Regions from separate parts of the Homo sapiens genome. Here regions 2 and 3 are each linked to region 1. Evidence: promoter capture Hi-C in 16 types of primary human blood cells and fetal thymus (Javierre and others, 2016). All regions are on one chromosome and are shown on one strand. Each heading gives the region's core, a stretch centred on a gene start or on the middle of the fragment in contact. The rest is flanking DNA. Distances are from core to core; before and after follow the strand shown.

Region 1 (4,036 bases), core at 1,302-3,801:
CAAAATCATACCCTTACTAGTCTAAAAAAATCTGAAAGTTCCTTCCAACACTCCTGTTCAATGACAAGGTTCCATATACCACTGAGCCACAATAATCACAGAACATCCAATGTTCCTTCTTCAGCGAGATTCCATTAATAAGCCAATTCCCCATCCACTTAAAATAATGGTTTTAAATGTGAAAATGAACAAGAAAAATTTATTTGTATGAATATTCACATCTCAGACAATAAATCTTCTAACAGCATGCTATTATCTTATCAGGACATAAGGACATACAAAATGGGATGTGTCTTTGAGGGGAAAAAAACACCAGAGGAATCTGAGAATTAGAAAACACAGATCATGGTCTTTGCTATGCAGTTATACCTTAGTGTTCTCTTGTTCTCTCTACACAAATGAGTATCAACCTACACGTTCTCAATGCTTGTTTCAGTCGGAAGTATATGGCTTTAGCCAAGCTCATGTTAAGATCCTAAATTACAACAACTGAAATGTAGTTATATTTTAGGAAATGTTTGAATTATTTTACCTATATCTAATTTATGCATTCTCTACAATCATTTCCCAATGGTAGTAAATAATTAGTATAGTATGAAATGGAGGAAACCATTTAAACTGGCTGTATTCAGTGTGGAGTATCACACTGCAATCCTAGCAGTAAAAAAACATAGTTTTGTATCTATTTGCAGAAACTAAGACTCAGTCAAAGCACTTAGTTAATATGATATACAGAATTAAGAAGAGGTTATGATTATTCCTATTTATAATGTCCAAAGTCATTCCAGTATGATGTCTTCACATCTTTAAATGTGATCTGGATCTATACAGGGGAGACATTTTCTCCACATTACAAAGCATATTGTACCAGAAATGTCTGGAACCCTGGTGGTCTCCATTAATCTTCACCACAAAGTACAAAAGAACACATTGATCCTTCAATGAAAATAATCCCCTGGTCTTGGAAAACATCAGAGTCACCAAAAGCAAAATCAAGAAACAACACATAATGGGGTTTTGGAAAGGGAAGAACAAAGATTCAATCAATACGAATTGCTCATCTTAAACAAAATCTACTGTGCCTATACCCATATTTAACTCAAATCTTTTCTTCAAAAAATAAAAAAATAGCCAAAACCAAACACGCCCTGATTTACATCTCTCTCTGCATTATTCTCATCACTTAACTACCCATGTTTTACTCCCTGAAAGAAGTAATGACAATTTTATACCACTGTAAATTCCTGCCAGTGAGAGAAAAACCCTATGACTTGGGGGGAAAAGTGTCAATGACATGTATAGCGATGTACTCAACCAGGGGCAGAAGGCAGCTCACAGCCACGTAGTAAGAAGAGTGGCAGGAAGGACGGGGTCCCCTTCCCCAGGAACACACAGGAAATCATGGAGTGCAAACCCTCCAAAAAACGTGTGCACAAACACCTGGCAAACATCGCATCTTTTATCTAGAAGTTCCGTGGTAAACACACATCCAAGGAGCCCACATCCCAGGGACCCTGGGGAGTGACTTTGGAGGAGTGTCTATTAGTCCTCCGATGCTCCCGGTCGCCGACGATGCGCGGATGGAGTTGGAGTGAGGGAGCCAGAGACCAGCCCCAGTTTCGGTTAATCAGTCCCTTTCCAGTGGGATTCGCAATTCCCCGGGTAGTTCTCTCCCACTGTTCCCCTTCCCTGGTCCTCTCGCCCAGGGTCTCCTTTCCCACTTCTCGCTGGCTACCTGAGGCCTGGTTCCTAACAGAACCTAAGAGGGGAGGGGGCGTTTCCCGAGTTCGCGGACGCCCAACACCCAGCTCCAAATCCCAGAAACTTTCCCTCGCTGAGACCGCAAGGAAGGAAAAAAGCTAAGACCCTCAGCCTCCTTCCTGGGGCCGAAGAAGAAAACCTTTCTGCGCTGCCACCCCGGCCGGGAGCTGGCGGTCAAGTTCGCGGTACAAGGAGCTAGGGACGTCAGCCCTCCAGCCCGCGCCTGTATCTCGGGGTGGTATAAACAGGATGTCAGACAGCGCGCTCCGGGCTTGTTTATGAAAACTTGCCGTGCGCGCTGGGGGAGGGGGCGGCCTGGCTTAACCGCTCTTCTCCCGGCCGGGGGCCCCCGCCCGGCGACCTCCTCGCCGCCCGCCGGCTCCGCGGGGCTGGAAATCCCCGCCTTCCCCGCCCGAGCCGCGGGGTCCTGAGCTGCGCTCAGGAGCAGCCCGGGCCGCGCAGCCTAAGGACCGACCAAGAGCGGTGGCCGCGCCTCCGGCCAGTCCGGGCTGCGCGCCCCTCGCCTGCCGACCGCGGCCGCCCCGGCTCCTCCACCTCCCCCGGTGACACTCACCACTTCCGTGTGCGCCTGGGCCAGGCAGCGCCCCGTCGCTGCGCTGGCTGGGGTCGACCGGCAGGCTCGCTAGGCGGCCAGCCCCGCGGGGCCCCAGCGTGCGCGCGCCCAGGGCTGAGGAGGGGTCGCGGCGAGGACAGCCGGGACTGGGCGCAGGCCCGCACTGTCTGCAGCTCCAGGATACTCCGCGGCCGCCGCGGCCTGCGCTCAGCGACGCACCGCCTCCCGTCCCGCCCCGCCCCGCCCCGCGGCCGGCCCCACCCCCGTGGCCGCCGGGCCCACCCCCTCGCGACGTCACCAGCGGCAGCCCCGGAAAGCGGGGCGGGGTCGCGGTCCCGGCGGAGACTCTGCGCCTCCGGCCTACCCGCCCCGCCCCCATCCGGCTTCGCTCGCGAAGCTGCCCCCACTCGTCTCTGTTCACCGCGTCCTCTAGATTCTAGAATCTAGAAACTCATCTAGGACGCGAGGTCATCTATCGCGGGGAGTAAAATTGCCAGGATTCGCCCGTAGATTGACCCCTCCCAGCTCTGGAGCCCCCTCCGCCACACCTTTGTGCGCTCGATGCAGAAATGCATCCCGCCTCCTCCGTATACGCTCCGCTTCTTACCCCAGCTCAGTAGGAGAGGAGCTAGTGGAGCACTAGACTAAAAAGAATTTAACAATACAGCCCCCAGCTTGGACAAGCTACTGCAGATCCAACCCATTCCGTATTTTAAAAGCTCTTTACGAAAAAAAAAAAAGCATATGCATAATAGGAATTAGAACTACATTCACTGATACCTAATGCATGTACAGCGCTTTTCATTTTTTACTAATAACCTCTCAAAGTAGTAGCATCATCTTATCCATGAGGAACAAATTAAGTCTTTAGTGTCTTAATCAAGGTCACACTGTAGCCAAGATTCATACTTCGTAGGCAGTCCACGGACAAATCCTAACAATTTTATTTCCTTAGGTATCTCTCCAATCAGTTCACTTGTCTATGTTCCGGCAACACGGTCCGAGCTGCCACCATCTCTCACCTGAAGGGACCACGAACATCTCTTAAATCGTCACTCCATTCACTCCAGCCCCCAATTAATTCTCTACAATGAACTTTTAAAAATTCAAATCTGTTCCACACACTCCCATGCTTAAAACACTCCAGCGACTTCCCCCTGACAATCCCTGGATGAAAATCCTCCGAGGCCGTGCACGGTCAGAATTCTGCAGCTTCAGGGCTGTGGACAGAGGCTGCCCCACCTGTGCTGACTTCACTAACCCTGCTGGACAGTTCCTGATCACTTGAGTTACTGCAACTGAAACTGAGCAAGATATTCTGGGTGTGGAATAAAGTCAAGCATCCGAATTAGACTACTGAATTTGAGGTTTGGCCTCCACCAGTAACCACCTGTGTTGCCCTAAACAATTCTTAGTTGACTCAATTCTCAGTGGAGCAGCAGACAAAAGGATCTCCAAAGTGCCTTCCAGAAGTACAGAAAAGAGGACCAAAGAAGACCGGAGATCAGAGCAGACAGGGAGGCAACCCGGGTTGCCTGCATTGTGGGTGTTTGTGTGCAAGTCTTGTCTCATCTGCCACACTCTGAACAACACCTCAGGGCTGTTTGCATCATTTTCTTCACCTGTTAAATAGGGATAATGCCTTCCTTAAAGGGGTTTTGCTGAAGGTGAACTATGATAATATAGCCCACATGGCATGGG
Region 2 (3,769 bases), core at 1,264-3,763, 700 kb before region 1:
TCTGACCTCCCTTCTCTGTCTAACAAACTGGTCTTCCTGTTTCAAAGTCCGACTCAGTTTTCACTTAGACACAGTGATTCCCTCCCTGTGCTCCCAAAGCAGCTTTTCCCTTGCACATCAACTGGCCCTTAGCAGAGACCCAGTAAATATATATGCTAAATGAATGAACTAACAAAGCATCAAAAGATTGAGCAAAATGGAAAGAATGATTTTTGACAAATAAAGTTACTTACAAAACATGAAGTTTAGAAAGTGTATAAAAGGTTGCTCACATTCATTCAGATGGTCTTTGGCATTATCCTACAAATGCAGGAACACTTCTCTTTTTATTGTTTTTCTTATTATGTCTATTAAATTTCTATTTTTTATAATTCCCACCACAGATGAAATTTTTCTTGAGTCACCAACTGCAATAAATAGCATCACAGACATTTATGAAACAGAAGAGGAGGGGTGGAAGAGTGACACTTCATTATATGAAAATGACACAGATGAGCCCAGGGAAGAGGAAGTGGAAGATCTGATCTCCTGGACCAATACTCTCAATACAAATACTTCAGAAGATTAAGCAGAACATTATCAGATTCAAAAAATAAACAGCCTCCGCCATAGCCCAGCGTTGTGGAGCAATTTTGGAAGACTCTCAGAACTTGGATTTCATTTTTTTTAAGTTGTTCTCACCCACTCACTGCAAGTACAAATTAGAAATATAAGTACAAATCAGTAAAGATGTTGCTTTGACTTTTTTGAGTGCTACTCCTTTAGAACAAAGTTACCAAAGTTAGGGGTGTTCATTGCCATATGCCAATCAATGGTGTCACACTCCCACAGTTGTTAGGCTACTGGACACAAGTTTTTGCAGGCAGAGAATGGGTCAGAAAGAGGTTGGGATAGGAGGGGAGCAATTAAAAGCTTCAGAGGCTGGACATGACCCCAAGTAGCGGGATCTATACATGGACCTACATCTGCCTAGTTTCTTGTCTTGTTTCCTCCATATTCAAGGAATGAGATGTCGCTATTTACTAATGTTTCTCTTCTGTTTTATCCCAGAGTACGTGCCATTTTCTCTTAAACCTTGACCTATCTCCTCGTATTCTTATAACTTTATTTTCTCTGTCTCTTTTTGCCATATTGTCTCAACCTACACATGTGCTTTGGTCTCTCCTATTCTAAAATATGTCTCTGCCTTTGACCCCCAACTCTGCTTGCCTCACCAGTATTCACTCATTTTTCTCAGTCAGATTTATTGATCTGCCTTCCGGGTTCAATATTTAGCTAAATATTTAGCTAGCCAGGAAAGTGTCAAGAGACCAGATATGTGTAGTAGAGCTTTCTGGTGGCACATGCCCATAGTCCTAGCTACTCAGGAGGCTGTGGTGGGAGGATTGCTTGAGCCTGGGAGATCGAGGCTGCAGTGATCTGTGATCATGTCACTGCACTCCACTCTGGGCAACAGAGCAAGACCTTGTCTCAAAAAAAAAAAAAAACAAAACAAAACAGAACAAACACACCTAGGTTTCTATGGTTGTTGAGAAAAACCAAATAAATGCATCAATACATTAATATTTATGAAGTTCTAATAATAGCACCTGGCCTATAGTAAGCACTATATTTGTGTTTGATCAAATAAAAAACAAAATTTACTTCTATTTAGTTAATTGATCCCATGCACTATGAAAGAAATTCAGATTCAGGGGGCCTGAACTGAAGTCTATAAACCTGCAGTTTTAAAAATTACCCCAGCTGGCCAGGCGTGGTGGCTCACGCCTGTAATCCCAAAACTTTGGGAGGCCGAGGCGGGCGGATCATGAGGTCAGGAGATCGAGACCATCCTGGCTAACACGGTGAAACCCCGTCTCTACTAAAGATACAAAAAATTAGCCGGGCATGGTGGCGGGTGCCTGTAGTCCCAGCTACTTGGGAGGCTGAAGCAGAATAGCGTGAACCCGGGAAGCGGAGCTTGCAGTGAGCCGAGATCGCGCCACTGCACTCCAGCCTGGGCGACAGAGGGAGACTCCGTCAAAAAAAAAAAAAACAAAAAAACCAGCTGATTCTGATGAAGATGATTAGTGGATGACACTTTGAGACAATGTAATTCTGAGATTAATTTCAAATATGATTAACATGGCATGCCAAATCGTGCCATTTGATAACGGAGTGTGTCATGTATAGTAAAACTCCACAACTGACGCATACCCTCCACTGGATATGACGTCAGATCTGAAGTTAAGGTTCTATAGGAACGCGAGGCCCCAGCCCCCTTGTGATCAGTCTGGATGGATTCTGAAAAGAGAGGAGAAGAGAGAAGCAGGGAATTTCATTTTTTAAAATGTTCTGAATTAGCCGGGAGTGGTGGCGCATTCTTGTAGTCCCAGCTGCTAGGGAGGCCTGGGGCACGAGATTCGCTTGAACCCGGGAAGCGGAGGTTGCAGTGGGCAGAGACCGCGCCACTGCACTCCAAACTGGGCGACAAAGCAGGACTCCGTCTTAAAAGTATAAAATAAAAATAAAAGTAAATAAAATAAATATTATAAAATTTTGCATTTACGTCATTGTCAATGTTTTTTAAACTTGCGTTGTTGTTTAGACTCCACTTCCCCTCCAGATGGCGCCAGTTAGCTATTTCATGCACTTCAGTCTTAAGAGACACTTCACTGGAAGCCAGGCACCAAGCCTCCTTATGCTTTTAAAGGCTCGTATGGCACATGACCACTTTATAAGAGCGGAATACTTTGTTTTCCCTCCCAAGGAAGATGTTTACTCAGTACTAGGAAAGATTTACTAAAAGAAAAATAGCCCAGAGCTTACAAATTACTCACGTTGATAAAATCATAGAGCCAACCTGGAGAAATCAGTCAGTCCTCACCACTGGCTTCAGGCAGGACCACACAGAAACCACCCTCTTGTAGATGAGAATGAGCCTGAGTTTTGTTTAATGACTTCCAGACATCAGTGCATCCACTGAGAACTGCTGCCTCTCCTACCTGAGGGAGGGAGGGACTTCCCTAGGGGTTGACAGTTAGAAGGCTCTCTGGGGCCTGCCTGCCACCTAGACCTCCTTTGCCTCCCTGCTGCTCCCTTACAGGCCATGGGTGCCCCTAACGAGGAGATGGTAGCAATGGTGTTGGCTGGGAGATGAAGGGGGATCCTGTGCCTCTCTGTTATTTGGCAGTTAACTAAGAATATACAGAGACCCAGAGTTAAATTTAAGCCACTCTCTCCAGAGGGTGAGATCTCAAACCTTATCTAAATATTCAACTCCAGTATTTAACCACCTCCCAGAAGAGAGTTCTTTTTGGTTAATCTGATTCCTAGATGCAAAAGTATAAGCCCACTTGATTTGGGGTTTTCATCATAAAAGATGGAGTGCAGCTGGCTCTCATTTTCTGAGCAATATCCCTTAATAGATCTGAAGGCTAATTTTAAATGTTCTATACCCTTCTGCGATCTGTACTAACCAACCCCAGACCTTTTCATTCTTTGTTATGGCCTCTCAATGTTCAAACCCTCTCCCCGACTCTTCATCTCACTTTCAAGTTCTAAGGACCAGACTGGAATCTAAATGAAAAGTGATCACTTGAACAGCCAAGGGTAATTATATTTACAAGTTGAATTCTGTTTCAACAAATACAATTACAACATCCATCCTGATCTCCTGAGGCTTTTTGCATGTCTCAATAACTAGCTCATGTTAACAATCCTTCACCGATATAAAAAAAATGTTTTCTATAGAGGAGAAAATTGTATATACTAGATGTGTTCACAAGTT
Region 3 (4,052 bases), core at 653-3,152, 720 kb after region 1:
CCATCTTGGAACCTCCTCTTATTCACTCTTTCTAAGCATTTTTTTGTACCCATTAACTATCCCCACTTCCCCTCCCCCACTGCCTTCCCAGCCTCTGGTAATCATTATTCTACTCTCTATCTCCATGAGTTCAATTGCTTTAATTATTAGCTCCTCCAAATAAGTGAGGACATGTGAGAACATCTTTCTGTGCCTGGCTTATTTCACTTAACATAATGACTTCCCTTTCCATCCATGTTATTGCAGATGACAGTTTCATTCTTTTTTATGGCTGGGTAGTATTTACTTGATACATTTGTTTCTCATGGGAGTATGGGTTAGAAGTTTTGAAACTAATTAATTTGGATGTTAAGCTTGAACAAAATAAATGAATGAATAAATAAATAAATAAACACATTGTAAATGATCAAAGCTAGGTTTCTCAGAGTGGAAGAATGAAGTGTCGAAAATGAAAGTCAGGAGGGTTAGATGGAATCTAACCTTGATGCTCTTACCTTGCTAGGGTTTTCTGTGTTTTGGCTCCTCCCTGAACTTTCAGCCATCCCTGCAGGGCTGAGCCACACACAGTGACTCTCCACTTATTTGCTTCTCTTTTAGTGGTAGGCTGCTCTTGTTTGTGACTGGATTCTGAGTTCATGGTGGACATTCTCTGTTGTCTTGAATCAGCCTCAGTCTTAGTCATTTAGACCCAGTGCCTGGGTCTTGAGAGTGGGGCTCTCTGGGCATGCTATATTGATTTTACTACTTCTGTTGCTTTCCTGCTATACCTGTACTGTCCATTTCCAGAGAGCTGCACCAACCAGTGTCTTACTTATATTTGGACCTACAGTGTCTGTGATAATGCCTGGTACATAATAGACCTTTGGTAAATTTCTATTGCATGTAATTGAACGAAGTCGATTTGAGTGAAATGTTTAGGAAAACGAAGCGTTGACATTGCTTGTATTTCACAAGATAGTTAAAAATGAATTAACGAGGAAAATTCTGGTTTGAGAATCATTTTCTCTACCTCTTTATAACTATTTGAAATGACAGCATTCCCCATAATAGATTCTCTTTATTTGCCTCACTTCTCTTCGTAGGGGTGAGATAACTGAAATGTGCTGAGGAATTTCCATGTGGCAAGTGTCATGCTGGTCTTTTAAACACACATCCTCATTTAAATCCTGATGATGCTTAAAATCTCCACTGAGAAAATAGGGGACTTAGTAACTTTTCAAATAACTCAGAAGTAGTACGTAAAAGAGGCAGACTAGGAGTCTAGGCCTGAAGGCATGTAAATATCAAAACCAGCTTGTCAAACAGTGTGCTTCTCATAGAAAGATTACTTCTTAACTTGGAGATGAGAACTTTTCATGCTGTACAAACTCGCATGGACAGTGGGTGAGGACAGACTTCTAGGCTCTAAATCTCCAAGGGGTCAGGAAACAACCATGGGGTGGCCAATCGGAGTTGAACCCATTAAGTTACTTGTGAAGTGAAGAAAACATATCAATCAAATTTTTAAAAGTATAGTGTTTGCAATCTCTTGTCTTTCCAGAGCTCCCGACAACCGTCCTTCTGCTTTGCCTTGTGCTCTGCTGCCACCTGCTGGTCATCTCAGAGAAGGCAGAAGGAAACTTTGGGCACAGGGTCAGTGCTCTGGGATCTTTGCCAGTGCAGCCCTGCAGAGTGACTACGGTGACATCTGCAATTGTTTTCTAGGAGCTTGTGTTGACATTCTTGGCTTATCTCAATTCTTTCATTATCTGAAAAGTTTTGAGTAAAAGACCTGTGCCCTAAGGTCTGAAGTTCCAGCCTTCAAACAGGATGTGGGCAGAGGCCTCCCCTTGCTTCGGTAATAAAGTAGATGGATGGCTGATAGGGAGGGCCCAGCAGTCCCTGACGGGGAAATAGTAGGCATTTTCCAAATGAGAGCTCTTCCCTCTCCCCCTCCCTTCACCAGAGGCCCCTCAGGAGATGCTTGGCTCCTGAAGTCCCTGAAGTTGGAGCACATTTAGAAGCTAAAATAGTACCAAGATTTGGGTCTTCTCACTTGCAATTCAGGACTCCTCTGGCTAACGAAATTCTGCGTATGGACTTAAGCAAGAGAGAGCCCCCTAATATGGGAGTAGGTACAGAATTATAAAGTCTGCAGACACAGCAGGCAGGCGGCGGCTGACCTTACTATGCTGGGACTTTAAACAAGTGTTGCTAAGGTCAGCAGAGCATCCAGACACCAAATTGTGCAGTAGGATAGGAAACTATCTGTTAATGACTTTAGAAGTCTATCATTATTTTTCCACCATAAATCTTGGAAAAAACATTAGAAATAATGTATGTGTGCACATAGTCACACATATACAAAGAATGTAAAGAATATAAAATTTGTGATGAAAGGCTAAATACCAACAGTAGTTATCTGAAGGTGATTAGTGCTTTTCCTTATCTGCATTTTATAGTTTTTTTTTAAATGGTGAATATTTATTACTTAGTATCTTTTAAATTAAAAAAAGAAAGAGTGTCTCTTAATCAGAGACTCTGGCTGTATACATCTGGGACTTTTGGTTGTAAGTAGAATGGACCAGAATCTCCAAGGCAGGAGATGGGAAACAGAAAAGAAAGGTCAGCTCTGTTTTATTCTTGCAGCTCGCTCACCCCAGCAGTTTGAAGATAGAGGACAGGGCTATTTGGCTTCTCTGATGTCGTCACTCACTTGGCTGGGATGACATATGGCTGGTGCTGGAGTCCAGAGATCTGGCACTGGCTGTTGTTCTTATTCATCCTTAATCCTGCATCACCCTTCATCTCTGGCCACTACTTCTGTCCTAGTCCTCCCCTATCATGGTAATTGTCTTGTCCTCATTCCAATCTCTCTTTCTACCACCACACAAAATTTTGACAAGCAAGTGGCTAGAAACCGACATTGTTTGTTCAGTATTAAGTCAAAGGAGAAAAGGAGGAGGAACACAGAGGTGTGGTTTTGTTGTTGTTGCTTTTTTTTTTCTTGCCACTGGAAAGATTTGTGCACACTGACATTTAAAACTTATTAACCAGCCAGGAGTGGTGGCTCACTCCTGTAATCCTAGCGCTTTGGGACGCTGAGGTGGGCAGATCACTTGAGGCCAGGAGTTCGAGACCAGCCTGGCTATAATGGTGAAACCTCTTCTGTAGTAAAAATACAAAAATTAGCCAGGCATGGTGGCACACACCTATAATCCCAGCTACTTAGGAGGCTGAGGCAGGAGAATTGCTTCAACTTAGGAGGCGAAGGTTGCAGTGAGCCGAGCTCGCACCACTATACTCCAGCCTGGGTGACAGAGCGAGACTCTATCACAAAAAACAAAACAAACAAACAAAAAGACTTACTAACCAACAGCTTAACTTGGGCTGAGAGGGACTAAAACTTGGGTCTCTACCTTACCAAGTGAAATACCAGATGAGCAAAATCACGCTCAAGTTCTCACTCCCAATAAGCTTTTTCTTCCCCTATTCCCATTTTGAAAGAGGGTGAATATTCTTCCAGAATCCTAAGCATAAAATATGAGAGTTGCTGTGGAGTCTTCTCCCCATCTTATCAATTGCCAAGTTCTGAAGCTTCCATCTGAGGCCCTCCCTTCTCCCCTCCTTCCCTCTATGGGCTCCCTGTTTTACCCCCATCACCTCTGCTCTGCTCACAGCATGAGCCTTCTGAGGTTTCACACCCCCAGTCTGCCCTCATCCAGTCCATCTGACCTAGAGATGCTGCATTCATTCATCCGAGGGCCAGTTTTGACTGCCTTTTTAAAAACATTTGCGAGTTCTCTGGTATTGACCAAATAATACTTGAATTCTAAAAGTAGGTGTATAAACCCTTCTGCAGTCTAATCCCAGGTTATCATTGACTATTCCCTGTGGGATAACGTTGTCAACAGCCAAACTTGGTGGTTCCAGGCACTGTAGTTGACACTGAGGCTATAGACATGAGAATCGGATGCAGTGCTTGCGCTCCAGTAGCCCCACCTCCTGTTGGAGACACAGTCAGCAGTGGTGTAAGTGCTGTAGAGGGATGACGAAGGCTCTCTAGGAGTCTA

The links. The method cuts DNA at HindIII sites, captures the fragments that hold promoters and counts their contacts. A CHiCAGO score of 5 or more calls a contact.
Region 2: a contact is called between a fragment that was not itself captured here and the fragment with the promoter of JAK1 in region 1, in 1 of 17 cell types (M2 macrophages). The highest score is 5.1, in M2 macrophages.
Region 3: a contact is called between a fragment that was not itself captured here and the fragment with the promoter of JAK1 in region 1, in 1 of 17 cell types (erythroblasts). The highest score is 6.7, in erythroblasts.

Annotation. Positions count from the first base shown.
Region 1 is chr1:64,963,998-64,968,033 of GRCh38, forward strand. It overlaps JAK1 (Janus kinase 1), which reads right to left and starts at 2,552. Exons shown (of 25, transcript NM_002227.4): 1 at 2,336-2,552. RefSeq lists a silencer at 1,897-2,776. The HindIII fragment of the contact is 15,152 bases long and covers 1-4,036 here.
Region 2 is chr1:64,266,641-64,270,409 of GRCh38, forward strand. UBE2U (ubiquitin conjugating enzyme E2 U) reads left to right here. Exons shown (of 10, transcript NM_001366232.2): 10 at 384-728. The coding sequence ends at 568. Among named protein-coding and RNA genes, the nearest start is that of UBE2U, 65 kb to the left of the region's middle. The HindIII fragment of the contact is 3,207 bases long and covers 911-3,769 here.
Region 3 is chr1:65,686,276-65,690,327 of GRCh38, forward strand. No RefSeq gene overlaps it. Among named protein-coding and RNA genes, the nearest start is that of PDE4B, 100 kb to the right of the region's middle. The HindIII fragment of the contact is 3,103 bases long and covers 352-3,454 here.